4 separate regions of the Homo sapiens genome follow, and regions 2, 3 and 4 are each linked to region 1. The links are contacts of gene promoters, found by promoter capture Hi-C in blood cells and fetal thymus (Javierre and others, 2016). All regions are on one chromosome and are shown on one strand. Each heading gives the region's core, a stretch centred on a gene start or on the middle of the fragment in contact. The rest is flanking DNA. Distances are from core to core; before and after follow the strand shown.

Region 1 (5,198 bases), core at 1,104-3,603:
AAAGGAAACTGAGACTCTCCATTTTACAGAAAAGGAAACTGAGGGAGCTGGGCAAAGCGCTGCCCTCTCCAAACCACTGCCAGGGGTCACCAGTGGGAGAGGGTCTCCGTGGCAGGCAGAAGGATGAGGGCGCTGAGTGCTGGCCTGGCTCTAAGCACTTCATATACATCAGCTACTGAGTCCTCACCACTCTCTATGGCAGGCACCGCGACCACACCCATTTCACAGATGAGAAACTGAGGCACAGAGTGCTGACATGATGTGCCCAAGAAACGGAGAAGCAAGGTCTTGAGGTTGGGAAGAGGAACAGGTGTGTTGGGTGGTCCTGGGCCCCCAGGCTGGGTGAGCAGAGCGGCCCTCGAAGTTTTCTACCCCTCAAGGGGAAATGTGCTCATCCTCACACTGGCTCATAGCCTTTCCACAGCTCCCTGGACACCAGACCGTGATCAGGCCTGCAAGGCCCCTCCCATCGGCCTGGCTTCCCATCCCCCCACCTCCTACCTGGCCCTCATGTGCTCTGTGGTCCAGCCTCTGAGCCTTTGCTCCCACTGTTCCCTCTGCCTAGATGCCCTTCCACACATCTCAGAGAGCCAGATCTGCTCACCCACCTTCCCTGCCCTCCAGGGCTCAGAGCCAATGTCCCCACCTCCACAGAAAGCCTTCCCTGACCACCATGCCCCGCCCCCCACGATGGGCTCCCAGCCCCCAGGGAACCCCCTGCTTTGCCCTGGCCTCTCCTGCCCTGTCTGGGCTGGGCTGCTCTCCAACCGCGGCTTGGTGGGGCGGGGCTGTGTCTCTCTCCCTCTGGTGCCCAGAGCCAAGACAGTGATCCGGGAACAAATCCAACCCAATCTCCTCTGGGCTTGAGATGCACCCATCTCAGGAGGCACAGCCTATCCTGCCGCCCGCAGAAGTGAGCAGAGACTGCTCTGAGTGGAGGGCATTGCCCGGGCAAGGTCAGGGTTGGGGGAGGAGCAGTATCCCTTCCTTTCCAAGGCGCTTCCAAGCCACTGACCTGTTTATTACCTGACTTGCTTTCCCCACTTCCCTGAAGGCAGGAGAGACCCTTTGTTCTCTCTTTATAAGACCATGTCTAAAAGGCCCAGCGAGGTGTGGCAACTTCCCAAGGACACACAGCCGGAGGAGCCCCCTGCCTATTGCTCCAAAGTGCTCACACACTGGGGCAGGGCCAGGTCGCTGGGGTCCCGCACACCGGTCAAGTCCTGCAGTGCGACAGCTCCTCTCTAACCTAGGAACAAGTGTCCATGCAGCCCCAGGGCCATCCTATCCCGTGGCTCATGGGGCCCCGCCTCCCCGAACATGTCCTGTCCCCACAGCACCGGCCTAGGACTGTTCACCAGCGAGTGGGCAGAGTGTCTTTGCCCCAGTCTGGTCCACGCCATGGAGAGGCCTGGAAAAACCCAACAGGCTGCTGTTCCCTGCCCCCATCCCTGAGGGGGTTAGAAAAGGAAAGAATGTTCAAAGTAAACAAGTCACCAGAGGGCCATGCCAGGACCTTGCAACAAACACAAGGTGCTCAGTAAGTGCTGAGTCCTGGGATGAAGAATTCTGAAGCGGGACCACTACCAGGGCCTGCCCCCTGCCCACAGCCCTCCCAGGCCGGGCAGGGCAAGTTCTGGAGGGCCGGTGGCGGCATACACTGAAGGCTGTGTGACGTTTCTATTTCTCAAGGCAGGTGAGTGGAATAGGGACCACAGCGGGCCCCAAGTTCCCCCATCAAGGCACGCATCAGATTGTGTGGTCAGCGTGGGGTGACGTAACTGTCTGCATGCAGCTGGTCTGGAGCCCGGAGGCTGTGACTCCCCTCCGCCCGCCTCCGGGCAAAGTGCGCGGAGGAGCCGGCACGGCGAGGCTGAAGTTAGAGAGGCCCGCGCGAGAGTGGGGGGGAGGTCGGGAAAGCCGGGCGCCGGCAGTCCTTAGCCCGAGGAGCTGCGCCGAGGCCCCCTCCGCCGTGCAGCCAAGCGCGGGCGCTGCTTAGTGGGGCTGGGGACGCCAGCCCGCCCTGCGCCCCCACGCCCCCTCGTCCCGCCCACTTGCCGGGGGTGGCTGGAGCTCCCGGGGGCATCGTTCTGACCCTGATGGGGCGGGAAGGACTTGGCCTAGAGCGGGACGTCCCCCAACACTCTGCAGTGCGGACGCGGCGCACACAGGTGCCCGGGGAGCCGCGGCGCCCCGAAAGGACAGGGCCTGGCAAGATCATGCAGCGGTGGGGGGAAGGTCTTACCGAGGCGTCCGGGGAGCCGGGTGTGCCCGGAGGCAGGCCGCCGTTGAGCTCGTACTCCTCGGTTCCCGAGTCCATGGTGCGGCCGCCCAGGCCGCCAGGATCCGGGCCTGAGCGCGCCCGAGCCTCAGCCGCAGGCTCCAGCTGCGCGCCCGCCCCCGGCCCGCCCCCGGCCCGCCCGGCGGCGAGCTGCTGCCCCAGACTCCGCCTCCACCCGGGGCGGGCCCGGGGCCTGGAGGCTGTACGCTGAGAGCGCGCAGTTTGGGGCGACCCCAACCCCTCGGGCCTGAGACGGTCCCGCGGGGCCCCACAAGGGAGGGGGCGCGACGCCGATGGCCCCAGAGGACCCTGCGCTGCGTCTTGCTCTGAACCTCCGTCGCGGACACTTTTAATCCACAAAATGAGGCCAAGAACGACCTTTCCCTGGCCACCAGGCAAACTGCATGAAAGCGAGCGGGCGTTGCCGCTGGCGCCCACGCTGGGTTTTTCCCAGGCGGGGTTCGCCCTGGGAACCGCAGATCGCTCCAGCACAGCGCCTGCTGCGCCCCTAGTAACAGCGTCAGAGAGTCCGGGGTTCCCCTGATTGCGGGCCACGCTGACACAGGGCTTCCCACTCCCTGACCTTAGGTTTTCCTGCCTGGGAAATGGGGGTTATGAGGGCACAGACTGCTGGAGGGGCTGGGGGAGGCACAAAGGGGATGAACGTGCGCTGACTCATGGGCCCATCTGTGCCACCTGTGGCAGGGGGTGGGCTGGGGGCAGCACAGTGCCCAGAGCCCTGGCCAGATGCTAGGCGGGCCCCCACCTGTTGTATGATTGAAGTGGTTGTTTGGTCTCTGTTTCTCCATATGTTCATTCCTCAGCACTTTGCCCATCTGGGGGCCTGGGGGTCGAGAGCATGTGGCGGCCACCCTGGGAGGCCAGGGGAGTTCATCCTGACCACAGCATAGTCAGCTTGCGGCAGTATGGCCACTCTATTTCCAGAAGGGCAGTGGAAGGAAGGCCAGCTCAGACCCCAGGCTCTGTCCAGTCAGGCTGCCACCGGGACAGGAGGTAGGAGTGAGTGGGCATGGGCAGGGCAGCAGGATTGCGCTTGCCCTGATCCTCCAAACGGGGTCATCCCATGAAGGAGGAGCTGTCGTGGGCCCACTTCACAGCAGAGAAACTGAGGCTCAGGCTGTCACTGCCCCAGCTCTGCCTCAGAGGGGATCTGCAGGACAGGGTCTGGCACGGTGGCCCACGACGGGGATGGTTGCTGTTGTCCTCGCATAATCAGGGCACTGTTGGCACACCTGAGTGTTCACCAGCAGCTGGAAATCCAGCACCATTCACACAAAAAACTCTCTCACAGTATGGGACAAATCCCTATTCTGGGGGATAGTGCCTGCCCACGAGGGCTCAATTCCTGGAGGGGCAGGAGGTGTGGGACCACAGAGAAAATACGTCACACCCAGAAAGGGCCCTGGGAGCTGCAGGGGAGCCCTGAGACCTTGGAAGGCCAAGGGCGTGTAGAGAGGCCCCGAAGTAGGAGGGCTTGGCAGGTGGAGACCCCGTCCTGAGAGTATTCTTTCCTTTGTGCCATGTGGGAGCTCCTGCAGTGTGGTTCATCATTCCCATCCTTTTTTTTTTTTTTTTTTGAGATGGAGTCTTGCTCTGTCGCCCATGCTAGAGTGTAGTGGTGCGATCTTGGCTCACTGCAAGCTCCACCTCCCGGGTTCACACCGTTCTCCTGCCTCAGCCTCCTGAGTAGCTGGGACTACAGGTGTGCGCCACCACGCCCGGCTAATTTTTGTATTTTTGGTAGAGACAGAATTTCACCATGTTGGCCAGATCACCTCCTGACCTCAGGTGATCTGCCCGCCTCAGCCTCCTAAAGTGCTAGGATTACAGGCATGAGCCACTGCGCCTGGCCCCATTCCCACCTTCTAAGAGGAAGCCGGGAGGGTCGCAGCACCAGTGACAGTTGGGACATCAGCCTCGGGGTTTGTAAACCTGCTCTGTGCTGGCCGTCTGAGACCCTCTCCCAGCCTCAGTTTCCTCAGCTCCTGGGGCTGCTGGCAGGACGTGTGGGTGTCAGGGCTCAGGCAGGCTGCAGCGCTGGAGTTCCCTCGTCTGCTCCGTCATCCTCATTTGAGTATGTAGTGTCTGTTTTCCCCACTGTGCTCAATGCTGTTTACCCAACTGTTCTCTGCTGGATCCAACCCAGGACAAGTCTTAAAGGCACAGTGTACCCCGTGTCACCTCCATCTACCTTTTTTTTTTCTTTTTTTTGAGATGGAGTCTCGTTCTATTGCTCAGGCTGGAGTGCAGTGGCGCGATTTTGGCTCACTGCAAGCTCCGCCTCCCAGGTTCAAGCGATTCTCCTGCCTCAGGCTCTCGAGTAGCTGGGACTACAGGCGCCCGCCACCACGCCTGGCTAATTTTTTGTATTTTTAGTAGAGACGGGGTTTCACCATGTTAGCCAGGATGGTCTCGATCTCCTGACCTTGTGATCTGCCTACCTCAGCCTCCCAAAGTGAAAGGATTACAGGCGTGAGCCACTGCACCGGGCCCAACCACCTACTTTCAAGTTCTCCTGGAGACCATGAGTGCATGAGCTGTCCAAGACCAGTTTCTAGACGCTGACCCTGAGCTGAGGGACATGTCCCCAGGAGAGACACAGAGGAGGGGTGTGGCTGGGAGGAACGGGCTGGCAGATGCCCCAGCAGAGCAGCCCTATGTGTGGGTGGGTGTGCACACACAAACACTGTATATGTACGAGGGCCCCAGGCCTCTGTGGAGGAGCCCACAGGGTATCTCAGGATGCCTCTCTGGTGCCCAGGGAGGCTTGGTGCATCCCTCTCCCCCATCAAAGACTCTAGTGGATTCTTCTGGGGCTGGCGTTGTGTTGAGTTCAGATCTGCCCCTTCTGGCTTGGGATGTGCTTCCTCATATGTAAAGTGGGTATAAGGCAAGA
Region 2 (5,198 bases), core at 1,102-3,601, 430 kb after region 1:
ATTATATTTGATTTTGCATTACTGTTTCACAATGAAGCTTTCTTTAAGGCTTTGATTTTTATGATTATGAAAGAAATAAGGCACAACCACAGTTTTTCTTTCTTAAATTTCATCACTGTTGATGTGGTTCTTTTGTGTTAAAAAAAAAAAGTGCAACTATCAAAACTAAAAAATTATAGAGTAATATTGCCGTTCTGCTGATTTTAAATATACAATACATCATACATACTTTACAAGCAAGTTAAATGGAGATAAAGTTGAAATCATAGAAGATGCAAATGACCTTTCAAAATCAACACAATGTGTTCTGAAACTTTCGTGACTAATACCATGCATCTGTGATCAATGAACTATGTGGTTTTGAATCGGATGTAGACCATTAGTACTACTACTTGAGCTAAACTTCTGCATGGTTCATAATTTTTAAAGTGTGTAGTTAATATGCATGTTATCGTCCTTTCTTCCATTCTTAACAGTATGTGCCCATTTGCAAAACAAAAATGCTAATAATCAGTAATAGTCCTATAAAAGATGTTAACTCTGTTTAGTCATTGACTGATCTTGCTCTAACCTTAAAATTTTGTGATTATTGACCTCTGTTGCATTTATTCTAAAGCCCCCCAAAAATTATCTAGCCGTTTCGAATATCAACATTACCCTGGTGTATTCACTGCTGTATGCATTATTGTTCTTTGTTGCTGTTTTATGCCTTCATATTAGCAAATATGAAATTCTGTGAAAAAAAACCCTTTGATCTTAAAAAAAAAAAAACCACCCCCCCCTTCTGTAGCAGGAAACAAATTGCTTGTTCTTGAGAACTTTCCCATCAAGAATTTAGTAGAAGCAGGTATACTTCTATCATTTTGATGTTTTTGTTAATGTTTCCAAACAATGTACTTTGAAATCAGAATCACTTCTTATCGTTTTCATATACTTCTGATGCTCTTCATCACATTAGTGATCAGAAATGAGGTGTAATTCCCCAACCCCTGCCCGCAAGAGCTAAGTAGGATCTTACTGTAAGTTGAAGGGAGTTTTGCCCTAACTCATGGATTGTGCAAGAATGAACTGCTGTTGGGTTTGATTGACTGTCGATGGATTGTGGTGTGGTGTATCTGAAGGCTATTGAATGCAACTTACAATGCTTAATAAAAATCTTTATTCTTTTAGTATAAAGTATGGCGTGGCTTTTAAATTCACTTGTAAAAGCTAATTTTATAGAGGTTTAATTCAAATCGAAACAACTACTGAAAAGATCAGAAAACCAAAGTTGAAAAATATTTTACCTTTTCAAAGTAATTCCAGGTTTCCGGCTTAGAGGGACATTAATATATGATTAATTTGTTTGATAGCTCAGTTTCAAGCAACCAAGGGGATAAAAAAATTCTGTTTGATAAAGCAGACTTACAGAAGAGGTTTTTTTAAGCCCTGAGGAAGCAATAAATTTGACTCCACCACGTTTTAAAAGCTGGATGTTACAAGTATAGTCCGTTTTTCATGCCATCCTTTTGACTGAAGGCTCTTCTCTGCAGCCTGATATGAGGTCCCCGTACCCAGGTCCGCCGAGCGCCTGGAGAAAGCGCCCCGTGCTGCCCTCTAGCGGGGGATGGTGGGCTAACGGCGCCGGAGGCGGCCAGGAGAGCTGCGGCGATCCCGCTCCAGGGAGGGGCTGGCGCTCGCCCGGGGGCGCGTTTCCTTCCTGTGGAAGGGCGGGGCGGGGCCTTGCGTGGCGCTTCCCCGTCCGCCACCGCGCAGGTCCCGGTGCGCGCGCAGCCCGCGAGGCGGGGCCGTGTCAGTGAGGCCTACTCCCAGCTTTTTCCTCCCGGAGGCTGAGACTGCGCCGTTGAAGCCGGTTCTCTGTGCGGGGCCGGCGCCGGGCCCAGCAAAGACCCGAGTGCCCCGAGAGAGACCGAGCAGACCCTGGGAGCCCGAGTCCCAGCAAGGCCCGAGCCGAGCCAGTTTCTCCAACTAGCAGCCTGAGAGCGCTCTTGGTCCTGGCTGTTCAGACCCCAGACGAATTTACCCCTTCTTTTTATGGGGTGGGCCTTCAGAGTTTGAAGGAAGTGAAGCTAGCCTCGCTCACTCCAGGGCCTCTTCCCACCCTGACTCGCCGGTTCCTGACGGTGGCCCGCTGTTCCGGGGCCACGGCTGAGTCCCTCTGCGCCAGCCTCCCGGTGGCGGGCCAGCCAGCCCCTTCTCTGTGCTGTGAGAAGATGGGGGCGCCCGGACGCTCCATCTTTCAAAAACACCATTCCACTGAGGACCCTGCCTGTGACGGGAACCAGTCTAACCCACTCTGGATCGCACGTGCCTGGCAGAGGGACAGCGTTGTGGAGGAACACTTTCCAGGCCCACCAGCTTCCACCATCCATTGCTAGGCAGTACCTCTCCCACCGTGACAACCACGCGCTTTTCTTCCCTCTCTCAAGGGGCAGGCCCACGCCACTTGAGAATAGCAAACTGACAGGGAGAGCCCTCTGGCTTTAAGAGGGGAGAGGGACAGGTTTCTGAACAGTACAGTCTCAGCAGCAGGAGCGCGCGCATGTCAAGGGTCCCTCTCTGCTCCCTGACAAGCAGGTGCTCCTTCTTTCCGGTGGTTCTCATCTCTTAGTTGCAATTGCTGTAGGTGAGAGAGCAGCACAGCTTGCTTTAGGTCACTCTCAGCAGGGACTGGGCTGGAACCCAACCCTTAGCTCCAAGTTGGGTCTGTCCACCCGCTCCTGAAGCTCCAGTAGGTGCAGGCGTGGGCATTAAGGAGAGAGGAAGGGAGAGGGTGCTGGGGCTCCGGCGACCCTGTGGCTGGAACAAGGAGGCCAAGGACATCCCTCCTTGCTGGAGCCATGCTGGCCACTCCTTCCACACCACCAGAATTGCAGAGGAAGGCCCAAGGGCGATGCTGTCATGGGCCCAGGGGTCAGTGGCTGTGGGTGGCACTGGTGCGGGCTGGACTGAATGGTGATGCTGGTGTTTCTCCTTCCTGGCAGCATGATATCCTGGGGCAAGTCGTATGTTCTGCTGCCTGGCCATTTATCCTCTTCCTTTTCAAAAAAATAGGTTTTACTGATTTTTTTTTCTTGTTTCAAAAGCAATATGTGTTTATTGTGGTAAGTTTAAGAAATACTGGCTAGATACACAAAAAGGAAAAGAAGTCCTCGGTAATTCCCCCATCCTGAGACACCTGTTTTTAACATTTGGTCTCTCTCCTTCTATACAATATATAGATTTTTTTCTTATACAAAAAAAATCATGTTAATATTTTGTAACATTTTCCCAACTTAGCATCATTTGATGATTGCCTTTCCCTACCATTCCATATTCTGCCATAGTTCCACAGACTCCACGGTGGGGCTGCATCGTAACGTATTCAGTCTTTCCCCACCAGCATGGTTGGACATTACCTTGTTCTGCAAGCACTTGCGGAGAGTCCGTGTCAGGCCCAGCCCTAGGCCCCATGGGACAGAAGATGTCAAGGCCCCTGCCTTTCTGGCATTTACATTTGAGTAGGGGGACAACATACATGTGTACAAATAAGAATATTTCAAGCAAGAAAATGAGAAAAGATGGGGAGATGGGTGGCATGGGCAAGTGATGCAGCCATGAGTGGAGGCTATCTGGGAATACAGGTCTGGGCCAGGAGCAGCGGATGGAGCACCCAGCCAAGGGGAATCCATGGAGAGCGGAGAAGCCCATGGCCACCCCGAGGACAGGGCTTGCTGTATCCTCCAGTGCTGTGGTCTGTTGAAGGCTTTGAGGCAGGACGGGTTGTGCTTGGATGCCCAGTGGGCTCCAGGTATCCATGCTACCCTGTAGGTGAGTCTTGTGAGGACCAGTGTCATTATTCCTGGTTAGCATTTCATCAGAAGAATCTCCCAGTGGGGAAGGGTGGGGGAAGGGTGGGGGAAGGGTGAGGGAAGGGAGTCTTTTGGTGCTCCTGCTGATTTAGCTCCGGAACGCTGCTTGGTATCCAGGGTCCAGGAGCTCTTTGTCTGTACTAGCCTGGCTGCTGGGCACAGTCAAGGCACTGGTGTTTGCCAATTTGACAGGTTAAAAAATGGGTTTTTATTTGCATGACTTTGATTTCTAGTGAGGGTGAACATTTCCCCTCTTACATTTAATTTGCCCATAATTTCTTCATTTTTCAATTGACAGGGAACTTCTAATGTCTCTCCTGGCTGTTTTATGATCTCCCAAACAATCAGGTAAGAATTTTAAGAAATAATTCACTGTCTATACCTTTCTCTATACCATCAACAACAAGGACCAAGGTAGTGTTAGGCTGCTCTGCTTTCCAGGACACCCCTCCTTGCCCTGCATTCCTTCTCCCTGCTCAGAGGGAGCCTACCTCTGCACTGCATGGGGCAGACAGCAGAATACAGGTGTTTTATGATGGACAGTAACCTTAGGGGTGACTCTCATCCCTCCCTCAGTTTTATTCTACTTTCAGTTCTTCTGAGAATGCAATACTTTCTTGTTAGCCTCAACTCCCTACCCTTACTCACTATATCTTGGACAAAAGTCCTATGCTACTTGGCTCCCCACGTTGTGGAGTAGATGGTGCAGAGGCCTTTTTGCCAGGAGCCTGCTGCTGGCCAGCCTGGCAGCCCTGCCCTCATCCACCCCACCTTTGTCCCCAAGCTGTCTGGTTACTCCTCCCTGTACCCCAGGGAAGCTTCCAGTCTTGGCTGTAACACAGCCCAGGCTAAGTTGACCAAAGACCTGCACATGGGACAAAATAAGCTTTTCATTAATGTGCTTTGCCCTGTGCTGAACTGGCTGTGGGACTTCACCAGAGTTTGTAAAGGACAGCCATGTGAAAACGCACTCAAGAAAAAAAAAATGCAACAGCAGTGGTAATAAGTTCTATGAAGGACAAATGCAGAGGAAATGAGGAACTTACATGGGTGGGGGTAGGAGGAAGGTGTCAGGGAAGCCTCTCTGAAGAATGACCTAGAGGGCAGGTGGGAGCTACCCAAGCAGATTCCAGGCACCTTGGGTGGACCAGGATGGCCACCCAGGATGGCCTTTTCCCAGGCTGTGCCCAGCAAGTTCCATCAGTTCAGGAAGCAAACAGCTGGAGGCACCTGTGCAGACCCATCCTGACCTCATGAAACCATGCCTACTCCTGGCATTTGTGAATGTCCATCTCTACAAACTCAACTGATGCCAGTATGGGCTATAGAGAGGGTCACATCAGTCTC
Region 3 (5,198 bases), core at 908-3,407, 380 kb after region 1:
AGTGTGAGGTGTCTGTGACTACACACATGCCAGTCTCATTATTCCCAGCTTCTCATACTGCAGTTGTTTTTGTTTGGTACAAAGGTGGAAGCTCTGCCAAGGTTTTTTCTTGATGCGAGCCAGGATCGAAGGGCTATGGTGTTTAAAGCTTGCGAGCTGAAGGCCCTTGGAAGGCAGGAACCTCAGATAAATTGTAGTCTGTAAGATTCCTGGTCGTTCTCTGGGGGGAGTCAACAATGATCTGTGCTTCACTCCCAGCGTCTGTTGACCATGCTTGGCTCTCAGGAGGCCGGACCAAGGACAGCGTTTGCACTCCTGGTCTCACCACGCCCAGTGTTGGCTTAGGGAACCTCTTGTGAATGCAGCCATGGACATTTGCTTTTCAGAGAACGAGAGTGAAGGTTTGGGGAATGTTTCTGTCCTTACCTATATTGGCAGTAGGCAGTGTGAGAGGTGGTGGTTCTTGGGTTGTGTTCCCCTTGCCTGGTGTTTTCCTCTGATTTCATACTGCTATAAAGAACTGCCTGAGACTGGATAATTTATGAAGGAAAGAGGTTTAATTGACTCACAGTTCAGCATGGCTGGGGAGGCCTCAGGAAACTTAGCATCATGGCAGAAGTTGAAGGGGAAGCAAGGCACCTTCTTAACAAGGCAGCGGTAAGAAGTGTCGAGTGAAGGGGGAAGAGCCCCTTATACAACCATCAGATCTTGTGAGAACTCATTCACTATCATTAGAAGAACATGGGAGAAACTGCCCCTATGATCCAATTACCTCCACCTAGTCTCTCTGCCTAGACACGTGGGGATTATGGGGATTATAATTCAAGATGAGATTTGGGTGGGGATGTGCAGCCTAACCATATCAACTGGTGTTCAGATGAAGAGGTTGTAGAAGCATATCTACTGCTTAAAGAGGGAAATTGGAGTCAGCAAGCTCTGGGCTTGGTTTTCTTCCACATTTAAAACAAACCCAAGGAAGAGATGGTGCAGCCGTGCAAGCCCCTGGTGGATCTGTTGTGTCTCACACAGGTTTTCTATTTTCTCTGTGTCTTCAGCAGTGTGCATCTTACTTAAACCGCCTCAGGGCTCCTTTCATCCCCAGGCCCAGTCCTCAGCTTGACACATCATAGGCCCTCAGCACCTAAGTGTTCTGAGAGGGAGTGCAGCTCCTAGAGGTCCATGTCCCATGTCCTCCTGCTTCCTGCATATCATTTGGGCCCCAGTCGGTCCTTGTTACTGCGGGTCTTGTGCTGTCTCTGGAACAGCCCTTTATGGGCACCATCTACTCACTCATTCACTTCTGTTGGCTGACGTGGCCCCTGAGCTCTCTTCCTGTGCTTAGTTAGGCCGCGCGAGGCCAGAGGTTGAGTGGGGAGGCTTCCAGCCCCTGCCTTCTGTCCCAGCTTCAGGCTGGCCTGGTTCCATGTCCTGCTGTCCTGCTTCAGCCATTCCTCTATGTGGCTTTCAGTCCTCTCACAGATTTCTTCATTTTTGCAAGGTAGCGTGGGAATGATGACTAGCACATGGCAGCACACATCAGGCAGGTTTATGAAATTATGTTTTAAGAGAACACAGAATCACAAATTACTCATCCTGTATATGTGTTAAAATGTGTAACCTAATTGCTGAACAATGAAAAGCAATTCCTTTTATATTTAAAAACTCACTAGTTAGCTGAGAACCTAATGGTAGTTGCAATGTACTTTAAATAGAAAAGTCCTCTTGCTTGACAAAGGTAAAGGAAACTGTTCGGTCCGACTTTGTTCCTTTCATGCCTGCCAGGGCTTCTGGTTTCACGGAGACCTCAGGCTAGGAGCAGCCCTGAGCAGGGAGACTGAGTTACAGAGAATCCCCACCAAGTTGCAGGCAGAGGGACAGCCGAGGCCCTCAGGAAGTACACGAGAGCAGAACCACTATGGCAAGTTCACTGAGAAATCTGGAAAGTTAGAATCCCAGCCCGAGTCCATCAAATGGAGCATCATAAAATTAAGTTTTCCTTACTGTGAAATGGCAATTTGTAATGATTTCTGAGAAGTGGGACCCATGGTGGTGTCGATGTCTGAGCCAGGTGAGGGTGAGATCCCTGGCGCCATGGGCTGGCCCCCAGGATGCCCTGGAAAACGCATTCTGTTCACAGCTGTGTGATTCTTTTCTTTCTGTGTTGGTGAAGCAGCCAGACCCGGTCCGTTTGGAATGCCTGGGATGGTGCCGCCGCATGTTCCTCCTCAGATGCTCAACATTCCGCAGACCTCTCTGCAAGCAAAGCCCGTGGTAAGGCCTTCCCTGCGTTGGGTCGGGTGGCGGGTCTCAGACAGGGTGCGTGCATTGAATTTCAACGAATGCTAAAATAAGTTCCTAACCTCTTGAATTGATACGTGAAATAGATGCCAGTGTTTGTTGAAATAAAAATGAGCCAGGAAACGTCAGCCTGGGCCTGAGTCGGGTCCTGCTGGCCACGTGTGCGTGACCTGTGCCCTTCGCTTCAGGCCCCACAGGTGCCCAGCCCAGGGGGCGCCCCGGGCCAGGGTCCATACCCGTACAGCCTCTCTGAGCCAGCACCTCTCACTTTGGACACGAGCGGGAAGAATCTGACGGAGCAGAACAGCTACAGCAACATTCCTCACGAAGGGAAGCACACGCCGCTGTATGAGCGGTCCTCGCCCATCAACCCGGCCCAGAGCGGCAGCCCCAACCACGTGGATTCCGCCTACTTCCCTGGCTCTTCTACATCGTCATCTTCCGACAACGACGAGGGCAGCGGAGGGGCGACAAAGTGAGTGGTGCGTGGGTCGCTGGGTGCTTCCTGGCGGGTAGTGACCTGGGGAAGCTGCCTTCTGGCCTGCCAGCCCAGCTGGTGTTTTGCTCAGAGATGTAGTTTATTGCAGGTGGGTGATGGTCAGTCTGTACTCAGATGGGGGCTCCTTGGACAGAGAGGAGAGAGGAAGAGTAGGTATGTTCTTGAAGTTTCCATGATTTAAAATCTGCACTATCCCAGCCCCATGGCCTGGAGCCACAGGAAACTTTCTGGGGAGGAATTTGACAAGAACTGGTTTGTGTGATGACCAAAACATGGGGGCATTTGTCCGGTGTGGTGCCACTCACACCCGTCACAGCAACCCCCTGCCGACCCCCGAAACATTAATCTTCTGGCTCCTGGATCAAGGGAGCTCTGAATTTCCTCTCCTTCTCCTAAACTCAGCAGGTTACAGGACACTTTGGAAATAACACTGTTTGCCCAAGCAAAACCCTAGAAAGCTGCCTAGACCCAGGCTGGAATTGTTTCCTTAGAGGAGTATTTTAAACACTGTGTGTCCCTGAATAAATGGGTTCACAAATACATAGTTGGTTAAAATTTGATCGAGGAAATCTTTAATTTGCACTCCTCCCTTTCTTTAAATTGTCTTATGTTTAAAACAAAAAAAACAGGGAAAGAATATTTCTTTTCTTTAAGTCAGTGTCTCCTTTTCCTTGGTGTGAACTCTACTTTACAGCGCAGATAACCAGGGCTGGTTGATGTTACATCTGTTTCTGATGTAGGAAATGTAAGAGACATAGGTGTCAGCTTCCATGCCAGTTCTTACCTTGTGTGTCACCTGAAGCAGGTGATCTTTTCCTCTCTGTCCTCTGTCCATCTGTGAAATGGGAATAAATGTCTGTTGACCCAGGGCAGAGCTTACTGAAGGACTCTCTGCCATCCAGGGATGCATACCCTGTTTATAGCAGAGAAGTATAACATTAATAAATGTTGATTTGTTGTATGTGCAGAGAAGTATAAAATTAATAAATGTTTATTTGCTGTATATGCAATGCCAAGACTCTAAAATGAAGTAAAGAGTTGCAATTGAATATTCAAATTTTTAAATTAACCTCTAGCAAGATAATATATTGAGTACCCATTGAATCAGAATCTCTGGTTGGGGCCCCCAAATTTGCATTTTAAATAAGCACCTCAGTCAGTCTTTAGCACACTGAAGTTTGAGAACAACTGCTTGATGGTCTTGGAAGCCCTTATGTGCCAGATTTCTAAGGCATGTGCATTTTGTTGTAAAACGTGACTCATGTCAGCAAGGTCCAAGTGTCTGTACAATACAGTTTTTGTCTTAGTAAGAAATGTTCTTTCTAAACTGTGAAACATAGGTAAGAAGTAAGACAAAAAGCAAAAGAAGTAAGCTTTATGACCCCAACAAGAGTTCCATGCTAGTGATGGAGATGTGGAAACCAGGTCAAGGTGCTGACTTGGGGACGTGGGTGGTGACTGGGGCATGTTTCAGTTGAGGTGCTTGTTCCTCCGGTGGGGAGGGATTGAGAAGAATGTGAGTTGCCCATCTAATTTGGCAAGTTGTCTTTGTTAGGATGAGCTGAACTTGGAGTGAGTAGGACTGCCTGAGCATGTCCTGTCTTTTCTGGGTATGCACTTCCTACCTGTCTGTGAAGGTTCTGGTCAGCTTTTTGGAGCTCTGGGCATCTGACCTCTCCAAGTGCTTATTGTCTTTATTCCTGGTATGGCATCTTTACTGTTTTCTGGAGATGCATCTTGTTTCTGCCACTGGAATTTGACCTGCTCGGGGTCTTGTGTTTTGCCATCCTTGTGGTATGAAGTGCCATGAGGAATGCAGGGTACACCCTATAATAAGGAAGAGACAGACATGTTAGACTTGAGATGAATGAAGGCAGAGGAGACAAGGGTGCTTGTTCCTGAAGGCTTTGGGGTCAGAAACTAGCATTCAACTTGGGGTGAAACCCTTGATCACAGGCATCCTTTGCTTGTGGCAGGTGCAGGGGTATGACGCGTGTGCCAAGTAGAGACAGTGTTCATGATTTTCAGCAAGGGTTCTAGTGTGTTGAATTGGTTGTATCTGCAGTGTATAATGTGCCCCTTAGGCTGTGCATAAGAGAACAAAGAATTGCTTTTATAGTTTAGAAAAAAAGTCACTACTTTTTTACCCTTTGGTTTAGAATTGAATGAGGACCCCGGGACCTACGTTGCCTTTTCAGGATGGCCCTAAGGGAACAGAAATTATTCATTCTCTTAGCAAGAAATACTTGGGCATTTATTTACCAGTGAACAGGGCAGAGGACAGGAGTGATGAGGTCTGTGCGCAGAGCTTGCATTCTGGAGGAGAGTATGTAAGCAGTGAACATAGAAGCCCTGACGAGTGCGTGAAGAAGACATGCCGAGAGTGAGGAGCGGGGAACTG
Region 4 (5,198 bases), core at 1,051-3,550, 330 kb after region 1:
TTTACAGAAGGAGTTTTAGAGTTTCACTTCCTTGATCTTGAAGCCTGCATTTTGATAGAGTGGAAATGGTAGCCATGACAAAAATTAATCAAGGCCTGGTGCTTTTAAAATGGCAGATACTTTCAGTGGCTACTAGCCTGGGACTTTCAGCAAGGAGGCAGCTCATAGTTCGAAGTCTGATTTACCTCTGGTGGATGACTTTACCCCCTTTGAAGGGCTACCTGTAAGTAAGTGTTTTCAGGGCTTAATTTTTTACGTCATTTTGTTCTTCGAGGGGGTTCAAAATCAAATAATCTGAACATTGCGTTTAATAGTTTTAACCCACTTCTGAAATTAACATTAAGAACTAGAAGTACACATTTCATTGTATTATGCCCAGTCCAAGCCAGGCATTGGAAGGCCAGGGAAGAGAAGAAGCAGATAAATAAGAGTGAGAGAGTAGCTTAGTATAGGAGAAGGGAAAACAGGAAGGAGCTTCAGAAGACCAGATGAACAGCAGGGGAGCTCAAGTCTGTCAGACCAAAGCTTCAGCCCAGTACTTAACGTTTATTCTTAATTAAATAACTGCCTTGTAAGTTATTTTGATGCAACCCAGAATCTTTTTTCCATTCCCACCCAAACCTTGCATTGTATTGTCTTTTTACCCCTGCTCATATCCTTGATCAGATTTTTAACCAGGCTTTCCTTGACTTAAATCTTAAGGAATTGTTTATTGGGCCTCTTACGAATATTCTTAGTAGTTTGACTGCATTTATTCACTCATAAATTAATTGGTAACCAAATTCCATACTTTGTAGGTTTTCTTGTTTCTTTCAACTGGACTACCTGTGGGAAGATTTCTGTTTTTATATAATAGGCTTTTTGAAACTTGCCTTTAGGCCAGGATTTATTTTTCACGTGCCTGTTATACTTTGTTCATCTAATAAAGTGGTTTGAAATAGTCTTTCAGCTGATGTATTGTCTTCTAGAATATTGACTCTTTTTTTTTAGAAAAATAAACTTATTTGGAATAATTTTATAGAAAATTTACAAAGATAGTACAGACTTCCCAAATATCCCTCACTCAGCTTCCAGGGAATGTTCACTTCCTGCTAGCTGGCACAGTGATCTAAACCAAGAAAATACCCTTGGTAGACTACTGTGAACTTCATTATGGACTTCATTTGGATTTCATCTGTTTCCCACCAGTGTCCTTTTCTGTTCCGGGACCCTGGTCAGGACCTCTAGTGTCCTCCATCCCCTGTCTTCTGGGGCAGCTTTTCTGTTTGTCTTTGGTGATCTTGACACTTCTGAGGAGTACTAATCAGGTGTTTTATAGAATGTCCCCGATTTGGGTTTGTCTGATGCTTTCTCTATATTAAATTATGGCTGTGTGTTTGGGAAAAGAATAGCCCAGAGGTGCAGGGCGCTTCTCAGCACCCCACATGGCACGTGGCATTGACTCGGCTTAGCACTGGATGACGCTGACCTTGGTTGCTTGGGTAAGGAGCTCTCTGTGGGTGTTTGCTCTGCAGTGACCAGTTTTCCTTTCGCTTATTTATAACATCCTCATACTTTGGAAGCAGTAGATGAGTCCAGTCCACATTCAAAGGGGATAGGGTTAAACTCTACCTACTGGGGGGAAAATTGTATGGTATTATTTGAATTCTTCTGTAGGGAAAATGTGTCTCTTCCCCCTTCATTTAATCATTTATTTATATCATTATGGGCTCCTGTCCTCTTTTTATAGGGTCATAACTAATTCATTTGGGGTTATATCCAGTTCTGCCTTATCCTTGCTTGCATTGTCCTGGCTCTGGCTTTGGGAGCTCTCTTGGGTTGGCCCGTGTGACACATGCCATCCTTTTGTTTTGGGAGTGCTTCCTTGCTTTCTGGACCTACGAGATGCTTTAGGTGCACCTTGTGTTTTCCTGCTCCAGTGTCAGCTGTTTCCAAAGAGAAGCCCCGGTTCTTTGTTATGGAGAAGGTGCCTGGAAACCTTGGTCTGGGCACTGGTGGGGTCCTGCTGCTGGGGTGTCTCTGTGTCTAGGCCCTCATAGCTGACAGCTACAGGTGCTACTGCTGCTTGGGGGTCCGTGTAAGGAGATCTGTGTGAACACCAGATCTTCCATTGTTTCTGTACCCACCTATGTGTGTATTTTCACCTGAACACCGGTTCTCACTGATGTCTCATGGCTAATGCAGCACCATGAGGTTCATTCTAGCCTTCTCCTTTTGCATGATTATTTGTAGTTTCTTTCTCTGACAGTGAGGACCTGGCTCATACGGCATTTGCTTTAACCCTAGTGTTCCTGCAAAGTAATTTCAGAATTGTTAACACAGATTCTGGGAGGCATACTTACACAAGTCGAGTGCACTGTTTCCCAGGTACTCAGGCAGTTCCTTTTCCCCAACCAGTTTCAGTGAGGCTATTTCATACATTTTATAATACAATTTTATAGATTTGTCAGTCTGCATTCTATCCTGGCATCCCCTGACACCCAGGTTGATTTGTTTTTTCATTTGCATACATTAAAGTTTATTCTGTGTGATGTACAATTGTATGAGTTTCGACAAATGCTGAGTCATCTTGTTGCTACCACCCCTAGGCAATCGACTTTGAACTCTTTCATTCAGAGTTTTTTGTGATTTTCTTTGCCAGATCTGCTGTCACCCCCCCCCCCCTTTTCCCCCATTGAATAACTGTGGAACCACACTTCCATTATTCACCCATGGAAAAGGACATCCTCTCTGTTACTCTTGTGGTTTTTAATGCCAGGTTGCATTTCCTCAGATAAAAGCACAATTAATTTTAACGAGAGGGAAGAGTTCTAGAATTTTAGAAGTTGAAGGAATGTAGAGATCTGAGATTTTACATTGGTTGTTGGGGAGGTTGTCCTGGCAGGTTGGGTATCTGGGGCAGAGCTGGAGCGTAGACTCCGATTTCCCTCCCCCCGACCCTCTTTACTCAGGAGACTTGGGATAGGAAAGATGGACTGAGGCCAGGTTGGGAGTGGTCCTACCTTTGCTGCAGGTGTGAAGCTGTGTTCATGGGTGTGGTCCTTTATCTTTTGTTTTAGGACACAAATTCTAGCAGTCAGATGTTTGTTTAATGCTCTGTCTGGTTTTGGGAAGGATTATGGTATGGTTAATCATTTGCAAATTAGAGTTGTACTGAATTATTGTTTGCTTTTTAATGCCAATCTAAAGTCAAGTGTTCTCAGTGAATAGGTAATTCTGTTATGGGTGGAGGAAGGAGGTAATTATGAAAAGCCCCACATGCCACCTTTGTTTTTTTGTATTTTTTTTGGTTTCTTTTTTTTTTGAGACGGAGTTTCGCTCTTGTCGCCCAGGCTGGAGTGCAGTGGTGTGATCTTGACTCACTGCAACCTCTGCCTCCCAGGTTCAAGAGATTCTCCTGCCTCAGCCTCCCGGGTAGCTGGGATTATAGGCGCCCGCCACCACGCCTGGCTAATTTTTTTGTATTTTTAGTAGAGTCGGGGTTTCACCATTTTGGCCAGGCTAGTCTCACACTCCTTGACCTCAGGTGATCACCCACCTTAGCCTCCCAAAGTGCTGGGATTACAGGTGTGAGCCACTGCGCCCGGCTACCACCTTTGTTTTATGAGGTTCTACTGCATATTGGCCTGTACTGGATAGACTGTATCTTACTAGTTTTAATTTGCTAATTTAAGGAATCTTTGGGGAACCATGAAATGCAACACCAAACTGGGGCAGTTTTTAATTTTTTTTGGTGCTTGCTGGCTGCCAGCACCAAGCTAGACCCTTGACGTGAAGATGCGTAAGCTGTGCCCCTTGTCCTGTTGGAGAGACATATATGTAAAAGAACGGTAGTTTGTCCAAAGTGCTGTAGCAGAGAGGTGACCAGAGTGTAGGTATGGTTTATAATAGTACTTCTTCAGCTTTTCATTAGGTTTTTTTCTTTTAAAAGAGGATTTTTAAGGCATAATTCCACCACTCTGATTACAACTATGTTGACCTTTGCCTTTTTCTTTCCAGCCTTTTACCACAAAGTTTTACATAGTTGGGTATATATGATATTGTATTCTGAAATGCTTTTGTTTAATACTTTATCCTAAGCTTTTTCTGTTTCTCCACAGTACAGCGTAGTGGCTGTGTCTATCTCCGTAATTTATTTTTTTCCCTTAGGAGTCTACCGTGATCCTTTTTATGCTTCTAATGTTTTTTATTTAGTGAATTAGTTTCTTAGGCTCTATTTCCTGGAGTGAGGTTACCGGGTTAAAGAGTGTGAACGTTTTACAGCTCTTGAAATATATTGCCTGCTGTTTTACAATACTGACAGCATTACTTGAAAGCTGCCAGATTAGACCTGATCCCTGCTACTCTCAGACTTCATCATCCCCCGCTTTTCCTCTTGATCCCAGGATTGGAACACAGTGGGTCCCTCTGCCCAGGCAACAGGCCAGGCTCATTTCCTGACCTTTCTAGGTCCCCTGCCCATGCTGCATGGATACTCTTCCTTGGAGGTCCTGCCCAGGGCCAGCCCCTCCTTTCAGGTCTTGGTTAGAAAGCCTCTTCTTGTGAGATGGCTTTGCTTCCACCGTGGGCCAGCAGCCCCTTCTCACCCAGGCATTGTTCACCACCCTGTGAAGCTGGGAGATGAGTGCTGGCTGTCTCTGAACTCCCTGCTGATGGAGGTGGGCAGGGCTGGGCTCTCACCTCCTTTTAGCCTCTGTTTTAGTTCTGCCCAGCTTCCTTCCCAACATGTGTGAATCTAAGGAACAAGCTGACTTTTCTAGATCTCCTTGGAGGAGTGAAGGAGGGTGAGCCAAGAAGGGAGTGGTCACTTACTGTCTCCTTTCATTTTCGTGTCTCTTAATAGAGTGTACAGACTTAACTATTAAAGATGTCTGGAAAAAAGCCAGTAATTTCTAATGATTTTAAAATAGTTTAAAAATCACTGTAAATGTAAAGTTGTACATAATAAAAAGATTTGAGGTAAAGAACTTGGATTAGAAATTACCATTTCTAGAAGTGAGAGGATGAAGCAGGCCTAATTTTGGATTTAAAAAAAATCTATTCTATTTTAGCTGGTATACAGTGTTTTTAGATTGAGGGATAAAACAGCATTTCTTATTCTAAAGAATAGAATGTTATTTGACTGATTGGATGTTGTTTGGTTTTTTTCTTATTAAGTAAAATGTTTTTATGGAAATGTTTACCGAGAATTCAGAAAG

Evidence for each region. Contacts are between HindIII fragments. The CHiCAGO score rates a contact against its expected background, and 5 or more counts as called.
Region 2: a fragment that was not itself captured here is called in contact with the fragment with the promoter of NINJ1 in region 1 in 1 of 17 cell types (neutrophils); the score reaches 7.7 in neutrophils.
Region 3: a contact is called between a fragment that was not itself captured here and the fragment with the promoter of NINJ1 in region 1, in 1 of 17 cell types (neutrophils). The highest score is 6.0, in neutrophils.
Region 4: a fragment that was not itself captured here is called in contact with the fragment with the promoter of NINJ1 in region 1 in 1 of 17 cell types (monocytes); the score reaches 6.6 in monocytes.

What each region holds. Positions count from the first base shown.
Region 1 is chr9:93,131,898-93,137,095 of GRCh38, forward strand. It overlaps NINJ1 (ninjurin 1), which reads right to left and starts at 2,354. Exons shown (of 4, transcript NM_004148.4): 1 at 2,246-2,354. The coding sequence starts at 2,320. LOC124902212 (a long non-coding RNA gene) reads left to right here and starts at 1,115. Exons shown (of 3, transcript XR_007061665.1): 1 at 1,115-1,696. RefSeq lists enhancers at 1-77, 1,559-1,608, 3,068-3,664 and silencers at 1,899-2,148, 2,319-2,548, 3,049-3,098. The HindIII fragment of the contact is 11,448 bases long and covers 1-5,198 here.
Region 2 is chr9:93,564,937-93,570,134 of GRCh38, forward strand. It overlaps FAM120A (family with sequence similarity 120 member A), which reads left to right. Exons shown (of 18, transcript NM_014612.5): 18 at 1-1,176. Among named protein-coding and RNA genes, the nearest start is that of PHF2, 9.0 kb to the right of the region's middle. RefSeq lists a silencer at 1,477-1,896. The HindIII fragment of the contact is 4,632 bases long and covers 36-4,667 here.
Region 3 is chr9:93,513,497-93,518,694 of GRCh38, forward strand. FAM120A (family with sequence similarity 120 member A) reads left to right here. Exons shown (of 18, transcript NM_014612.5): 6 at 2,171-2,271; 7 at 2,487-2,773. Among named protein-coding and RNA genes, the nearest start is that of PHF2, 60 kb to the right of the region's middle. The HindIII fragment of the contact is 4,022 bases long and covers 147-4,168 here.
Region 4 is chr9:93,464,595-93,469,792 of GRCh38, forward strand. The region is part of intron 1 of FAM120A (family with sequence similarity 120 member A); the gene reads left to right. Among named protein-coding and RNA genes, the nearest start is that of FAM120AOS, 14 kb to the left of the region's middle. RefSeq lists enhancers at 2,048-2,614, 4,653-4,712, 4,793-4,842. The HindIII fragment of the contact is 3,555 bases long and covers 524-4,078 here.